Linked DNA regions of Homo sapiens: regions 1 and 2 are each linked to region 3. The links are contacts of gene promoters, found by promoter capture Hi-C in blood cells and fetal thymus (Javierre and others, 2016). All regions are on one chromosome and are shown on one strand. Each heading gives the region's core, a stretch centred on a gene start or on the middle of the fragment in contact. The rest is flanking DNA. Distances are from core to core; before and after follow the strand shown.

Region 1 (2,700 bases), core at 91-2,590, 280 kb after region 3:
CCTAGAATCACCAGTTGTTACTATTTTACCATATTTGCTTTATACCATATGTGTATATGTATGTATGTACACATACAAAATACATTTTGCTTTTACCATATGTGTATATGTATGTATGTACACGTACAAATTTTTTTTTTTTGAAATGAGGTCTTATTATGTTGCCCAGGTTGATCTGCAACTCCTGAGCTCAAGGGATCTTCTTGCCTTGCATCTAACTGTGATTATAGGCGTACACCATGGCACCGAGCCAAAAAAAATTGTTTTTTGCTAACCCCTTTGAAAGTTGCAGACATTATAACCATTTACTTCTAAATACTTCAGCATGTTTTTCCTAAAAACAGCATTCTCTTATAAAACTGCAGTGCAAATTTCAAATTCCAGAAATTTAACATTGATACGATATCATTTTCCAATATTGGCCCATATTTATATACTTCCTGCCCACAATCCAGTCCATACTTTGCGTTTAGCTGTCATGTCTGTTAAGTCTTCTTCAATCCAGAACAATTCCTCAGCATGTCTTTGTCTTTCATGATATTGGCATTTTTGAAGAATAGAGGCCAGCTGTTTGATAGAATGCCCATTTAACTTGAATATGATTGTTCCCTCAACGGCTGAACCCAAGTTATGCATTTTTGAAAGGAATACAGCAGAAATGATGCTGAGTCCCTCTCGGTGCATTCAGAAGCCGTATCATATTGCTTTGTCCCATTATTGTGATATTAAGTTTGATTATTTTATTAAGGTAGTGTTTATTAGATTTGTCCACTGTAAATATGTCTTTTTGCCTCCTGGTAAGTAATACTCTGTGAGGCAGTACTTTAAAGACTGTGTAAATATCCCATTCCTCAACAGACTTTTACCCTGAAACGTAATAAGTAAAAATCACATAAAATTTTTATCTTCTTCAAATCTTTGTACCTGAAGTTCTTTCCTTGGGCTCTTTGACTTCTTAGCCTTTAGGCCTTAAACATATTATCTGTTCAGATAGGCCTCTCCTGATTACACTGTATTTTAAATGTGTTCTACATATGTCTTCAGATTTTGGTTTTTTGTTTTTGTGTTTGAGGGTTCTCATCTACTAACAGGACTAGCAGTTTCAAATAAAGGACATAGTAGTCAATTCATTTTAGCTCTTAACTCTTCACTGAGCTCCATACCAACATTTATATTTAATCTCAGGACATCTTGATGCTATCTGGTGTATACAAAATGGAACTCATTATCTTCTCTGTCCCTGTTAGTGGTACTACCATTTTCCAGTTGCCCAGATTTGAACCCTGGAATAATGCATGACTCTCTTTTTTTAATCTAAATCCAGTCAGGATCCTTATGTAGTGCATTGCAGAGACTTTCATGTTTCCTACTTTTTATTCCCACTGCCACCATTCTAGTTTAGTTTTCCATTTATTCTAGCCTAGTTTATAGTCTCTTTCTCCCTCCTCAGTCTTTCTTTGTTTCAGGACATTGACTGTTTTGAACAGTGTACACTGGTTATTTTGTAGTGTTTCTCAGTTTGGGTTTGTCTGATTTTCATCATGATTAGATTCAGATTCTACACTTTTGTTAGGGATGCAGCATAAGCAATGCTGTATTCCTCTCAGTGCATCTTAGCAGAAGGCCTGTGTCTCCTTCCTGGTGACTCTTGTTTGTGCTCACTTGATTATTTGTCTGCCAGGTTTCTCCACTGAAAAGATACTATTTTACCCTTTGTGAGTATCAAGTATCATTGGAGACATAGCTGAGAATATGTAAATATCCTGTTACTCCTCAGATTTCTCACCCATTAGTTATCCATTGATGACTCTGCCTAAATCATAGTTATTATCATAGTTGCCAAATGATGGTCTTAATTCCATGTGTATCCTTATTTTCACATAACCATGATTTGAACTTTCTGAATGTATGAAATGTATTAAATGTTTTGACAGACTTTTATGTGTGGTTTATAGGGTAGATTTTCTATTTCAGCTAAGAGTTTTAAGTTATGATTATAAATGTTTTAAGGACTTGGCTGTGTGGGTGTGTAAATATATTTCTACTCTGGTGTATACATGGAACATTCAAAATTAAAATAAGTAGATGGTTCTGATTGTTTCTAATAATAAAGAATGTATATAGATAGCTTATATGTTCTTTAACACAATGTGGAAGGTTAATTAAATTTTTAGAATCTTAAGCATTCTGTGAATACAAACAATGTTATGTAAGGAGCATTCAATACAAGTGTGGCATGGCTGATAATGTTCATTTAGTGTGGGAAAACATCTTCAAAAAAAGATTAACAGCATTTTTCTGTGGGACCCGTTGGGGTGGGGTAGGGTGGGTTGAGAAGGGACTGAGCTTGTTCATAAAGTTTTAACTCCGTAAGACAAACTTCTTTGTCTTCTCAGTTCTAGCTCGGTGACACATAGTAGACTTTATTTAGTGATGACAACCCCTTGTGATGAATGTCAACAGTATTAAACTAGAACTTCCCCTGATTACTTATAGGTCCAACTCGCTGGAACAAGTTTACAGGCTGCTGCTCAGTCTTTAAATGTACAGGTAAGCTGGGACCTGGGATTATGGGTCAATCTTTTATTTATTTTTTCTTATATTTTTCTGTAGTGAGCATATATTTTATAATAGGAAATGCTTAGAAGTATTACCTTTTCAAAATTAGTGAATCTCGTGAAGATTCAAATAATGATAATT
Region 2 (2,700 bases), core at 59-2,558, 300 kb after region 3:
TTAGTTGCTAGATGACATGATTGTCTATGTAGAAAATCTTAAGGAATCTACCAAAAAAAGCTACTGGAATAAGTGAGCTTAGCAAGTATGATACAAACTCAATATATAAAAATCATTTACATTTCTATACACTAGCAGTGAGCATTTGGAAATTGAAATTAAGAAAAAGAAATTTACAGTACTTAGGGGTAAACAACAAAATATTTGTAAGGCCTATACAAATAGTTCTATAGTTGAAAACTATAGAACATTGCTGCATAAAATTAAAGACCTATAAAATAGAAAGAAGTAATATGTTCATGAATCAGAAGACTTAAGTTAAATGTTAAAATGTCAGTTTTTCCCAAATTGACCTCTAGATTCAACAGTCTCAACCAATACCTAGCAGGCTTTTTTGTAGAAATTTGCATACTGTTTCTAACATTTATATAGAACTGTAGAAAACACAGAATAACCAAACGATTTTGAGAAGAAAATTGAAGGACTACTGATGTCAAGAATAATTATAAAACTCAAGTAATGAAGACAGTGTAATACTGGCATATGGATAGAAATAGAGATCAGTGGAACAGAATAGAAGGTCCAGTAGATCCACATGTATATGGCCAACTGATTTGCCAAAGGTGCCAAAGGATTTCAATGGGAAAAAAAAAGTCATTCAAAAAATGCAGCTGAAACAATAGGGAAAAAAAATAAAAAACCTTGACTATTATTTCACACCATGTACAAAGATTTGTTTGATGGGTCATAGACCTAAACTTAGAGAAAAAAGCTTGGAAAAAAATCTTTGTGTCCTTGGGTTAGGCAAGGATTTCTTAAATAGGACACAAAAAGCACCATAAAATAATGGATAAATTTAATTTCATAAAAATCAAAAGCTTCTCTCAAGTGAATGAAAAGAAAACCACAGATGGGGAGAAAATATTTATGAAACATATCTGATAAAACATTTGTGTTCAGAATGTCTAAAGAACTCATTCAAGTTAATAATAAGACAATCTGATTTAAAGGAATGGGCAGCAAAAAAATTGGAGATACGTCACCAAAGATGATATGTAAATGTCCAGCAGGCATATGAAAAGATGCTCAAAAACCGTTAGTGATCAGGAAAATTTAAATGAAATATCACTACACAGTCACTAGAATAAGCAAAATTTAAAAGGCTATGACAAAACCAAGTGTTGGCAAGAAGGTAAAGCGACTAGAGTTCTCATACATTGCTTAGTGGTGTTGCAAAATGGTATACACACTTTGGAAATTATTTTGGCAGTTTCTTTTTGGGGGGGTGAGGGGGAGGCAAGGTCTTGCTCTGTCACCCAGGCTGGAGTGCAGTGGCACAATCACAGCCCACTCTAGCAGCCTGACCTCCCAAGCTCAAGCAATCCTCCCGCATCAGCCTCCTGAGTAGCTGGGACTACAGGCGTGCATCACCATGCCCAGCTATTTTTTGTAGAGATGGGGTTTCGCCATGTTGCCTAGGCTGGTCTTGAACCCCTGGGCTCAAGCAATCTGCGTGTCTTGGCCTCCCAAAGTGTTGAGATGACAGGCGTGAGCCACCGCACCAGGCTGGCAGTTTCTTATAAAATTAAATGTGCATGTACCTTGTGACCCAGCAGTTCTGTCCCTAGAAATGAAAGCATACGTCCACACAAAGACTTGTATGTGAATGTTTCTAGCAGCTTTATTCACCTCAAACTGGAAACAACCTAAATATACATCAGCTGGTGACTAGGTAACATAAGCTTTAGCATATCCATATGATGGAATGCTACTTTGCAGTAAAAAGAAACGTGCTTCTGATACATGCATCTCCTGTGAATCTCAAAAGCATTATACTACATGAAAGAAGACATAAAAGACTGCATACAGTATGATTCAATGCACATGGCATTTTAGAAAAGACAAAACTAAGGTACATAAAACATATTAGTGGTTGCCAGGGACGGGGGGCTAATGGTGGGGATTAACTGCAAAGGGAACAAGGGAACTTTTGGGAGTGATGAGAATGTTCTGTATCTACTACTATCTGTAGTAACTGCTACTGCAATTAGTAGCAGTTGTATGACTGTAGTTGCTGAAACATATACTTTGCCCTTTTAAATGGTGAATTTGTGAATATGCTGAATGCAAGAGTGAGGTTGGGATTTTGAAAAAAGCCTATACCAGAGACTTCTTCCTGGCCTCCGTTCTCTGCATATGGTGGCAGGGCCGTTGTGGCTTCATCCTGACTCCTGCTCACTGAATTCTACTCTGCCATTTCTAGATCTGGCCCAGTCCAGCCTGAGGTTTCTGGAGCTGGGGTAACTTATCTGTAACCACCCCATCTAAAGGTACCCAAGCGATTTTTAGTCCTTTATTATTTGAGAATGGGGCTACTTCAGGCCCGGAGATGAAGTAACAATGTGATAGTTAAGACTCACCTGTAACTGTCAACCAGTTTCGCTGTGAGAAATGTACAGCTACATAGGGGTCTGCTATGGTTGGTGCTCGTTTTGGCTCCTCCAAAATGGTCAGGTTGAAAATTACGCAGTGTCAGCATGACATAGAAATGAACTTTGTTATTGTCATTGAAACAGGATAAGAGAGGAACTTAACTCCAGTTGTCGCCTGTGTAATGCTTATTCTGTAGTTTTCTGGGACAGTTAGTTCCTTTGGAGGAAGCCTTGACTCATAAGGTAAAGGTCAGGCTTATATAACTCA
Region 3 (2,700 bases), core at 163-2,662:
CTCCTCACTTCTATGGCACCTGCACAAACTATGTGCTCAGTAAAGAGTTGTTTGGATAAAGGAATGAGCCAACCAGTCCATCTTGGTGGATGATGAGGGGCTTTCTGCCTTCAGTCAGATGAACTTGAGCCAGCCTGAGAGAATGATCTTACCCAGATCTTCCTCCAAACCGTGTGATCCAGCCCTTCCCCAGCAGCAGGCTGCCCTTCCCTCGAGAGCCCCAAGGCCAGGTGTTGAGAGAAAAGCATGTCTAGGGCCTGGGAGAACCAGAATGAGCTGTAGGCCCCGTGGCCCGGGGCTTTCCTGTGTATGCTAAAAAGTGAGCTCTAAACCAGTCTCCTGGTTTCCACTTCCCCAGGCTTGGTGCTCCTGAGTTTCCTGGTATAGCTCTTCTCCTCCCCGTTGCAGCTGGATCCTGGAAGCCCTCAACAGTGTCTGAATTGCAAGGTGATGGCCAAATACACTAAACCAAAGATATTCCTAAACTTTGCCAAACCCTGCGTCTCTCAACTTCCTTCTCTCCATTCTATTTCCTTCCAATGCCCAGCAAAATGGTTGGTACCTTAATGCCAAGACTTTCATTCTAACCCTTAGACACTCCATAGGTCCCCACAGAACACTGTGCTATTAAGCACTTGATGTGGATTCAACCATATACTCATGAATGTCTGATTTTGTTCTGGGAGGTTTCCCTCCCAGAGGGAAATGCTCAGAGTCCCAGAATTTTCAATGACCAGGGTCCCAGAAGTGGCAAGGAGCTTTGGCCTTTGGAAAAGACCCATCTAGTTTGTTGTTTGTTTTTAGGGTTTGAATCTTCTCTTGCTCTGTGAATGATACGGGATAAGTTGCATTGTCTCTTCTGCCTCAGTTTCCTGTCTCTTTCTCTGGTTTTAACACAAACGTTAATATACTAGATAATGAACATATCTAGATCCACACATCCTGGATTTTCTAGGACAACTCCGATTTCAAATACTTTGTCCACATTGTCAAATCCTGTGTCTGATCCTATAATCTAATTTGGGATAAGAAAATATGGTCTTGAGAGTACTTTGAATTCTTCATTTCAGCAGTGGGCTAGAATGTTATTTACTAATATGTAAATAAAAACCATTCTGATTCTGGGCACTGGTCCGGAATGTGTAATTCTGGCCCAGCAGGAACGCAGCTGTGTTGCTGGAGGCCCTTCCTGGGAAGGCTCTGACAGAGCCTCTCCTTCAGCCCTAGGTCCCCATGTCTCACCCACCCCTGGGCACTGGAGAGAAAAGGGGCCTACTCACCTGCACAGAGTGTCCACAACACAGGCCACATCTTCCCCACCATGGTCTTGCTTCTTCTCTGCCCTAAACCTAACCTGTCACTGGCAGCCTCCAGACAGGTCTGAGCTGTCTGGTTAAAGCTACAGCAGCTTCTGGCCTGGCCCAACTGGAGGTCCCTGCAATTTTCCCTCTTCTCACCCACCTCTGCCCAGCCTCAGCTGGATTGGCAGGTGAGCTCCTCAGCTGGATTGGCAGGTGAGCTGGGGCTGGGCTCATGTGTCACCTACTCCAAAGGTCCCAAGAGGAGTCTTCCCTACTTCCCTCAAGTTCCCCTTAAACCAGCCACCTCCCCTGCCTTCTCCCTACTTAACAAGTGTACAAAGTCCTAGACTGCTCACAAAGGGGTAGGCCTCTCTTATAACTGACAGGAAATAAATAATAAAAAGGGAAATGCACTCAGAGGTAGGGTTCCAAGCTAGTAAAAGAAGGGTGTTGCCCATATTTGCTGAAACACTTCAAGACACAATGTGATCTGTTTCTCTACTTCTCTCCTCTTCTACAGCCTCCACCCCACAGTGCGCAAGAGATATAGTCATGAAGAAAACAGGAAGTCTCCCCCTTCAGAGTTTATATTCTGACTGGGAAAGTAGCAAGTTCATAAGTGAAAGAAGATCATCTTGGGGACATGTGACCAACTTGTCTCACTTTTCCTAGGACTGTCCTGGTTTTCAAACCAAAAGGAACCCCCTCAGTCCCAAGCAAATTTGGATGATGGTCACCCTACTGAAAGAATGATCAGTGGTGTGGGACCATAATTCTCCAGGAGCAGTGGCTGTTGCTGGTTTCTTCCATAGATATTTTAGATATATATACACTGTTCTGCAATGATTTATTCATTTTTCATTTAATGAAAGGTTTTAGAAAGCTTTCTGTATCGGTATGTATAGCACCACCACCATCATCTTTTTAAAATGGGGATGATATTTCACTGTATATGAGTGACATGATTTATTTAACCAAACTACTTTTAAGATTGTTTTTCCTCATCTTTCACAACTATGAAAAGATTGCAACCAATATCTATTATGTGTACGATATTTCACACGTGTTGTGATTATACATGTAAGATAAATTCTTAAAAGTAAAATTTCTGACTCACTGAAAGTTATGCATATTTGTAATTTTTATAGATATTGCTAAACTAGCTACCATGAGAATTTTACAGCCTACACTCCTATTAGCAGCATATAAGGATACCTATCTCCCCACACACTCACTAACACAGTTACCAAGTGTTTATGACACAGTTATCAAACTTTCTGCTCATCGCCAATCTAAGTGAACATGATATCCCATGTATATATAATTTACTTTTTAAAATTATTAGTGAAATTTGGCCAGGCGCGGTGGCTCACGCCTGTAATCACAGCACTTTGAGAGG

Evidence for each region. Contacts are between HindIII fragments. The CHiCAGO score rates a contact against its expected background, and 5 or more counts as called.
Region 1: a fragment that was not itself captured here is called in contact with the fragment with the promoter of GPA33 in region 3 in 2 of 17 cell types (neutrophils and total B cells); the score reaches 6.1 in neutrophils.
Region 2: a contact is called between a fragment that was not itself captured here and the fragment with the promoter of GPA33 in region 3, in 5 of 17 cell types (total B cells, naive B cells, naive CD8 T cells and 2 more). The highest score is 7.6, in total B cells.

What each region holds. Positions count from the first base shown.
Region 1 is chr1:167,367,665-167,370,364 of GRCh38, forward strand. POU2F1 (POU class 2 homeobox 1) reads left to right here. Exons shown (of 16, transcript NM_002697.4): 4 at 2,497-2,550. Among named protein-coding and RNA genes, the nearest start is that of POU2F1, 150 kb to the left of the region's middle. The HindIII fragment of the contact is 7,500 bases long and covers 1-2,700 here.
Region 2 is chr1:167,384,918-167,387,617 of GRCh38, forward strand. All of the region lies in intron 8 of POU2F1 (POU class 2 homeobox 1), which reads left to right. Among named protein-coding and RNA genes, the nearest start is that of CD247, 130 kb to the right of the region's middle. The HindIII fragment of the contact is 864 bases long and covers 877-1,740 here.
Region 3 is chr1:167,088,965-167,091,664 of GRCh38, forward strand. It overlaps GPA33 (glycoprotein A33), which reads right to left and starts at 1,413. Exons shown (of 7, transcript NM_005814.3): 1 at 1,281-1,413. The coding sequence starts at 1,323. It overlaps LOC124904451 (a long non-coding RNA gene), which reads left to right. Exons shown (of 3, transcript XR_007066717.1): 2 at 359-447; 3 at 1,822-2,417. RefSeq lists an enhancer at 1,439-1,588. The HindIII fragment of the contact is 4,295 bases long and covers 1-2,182 here.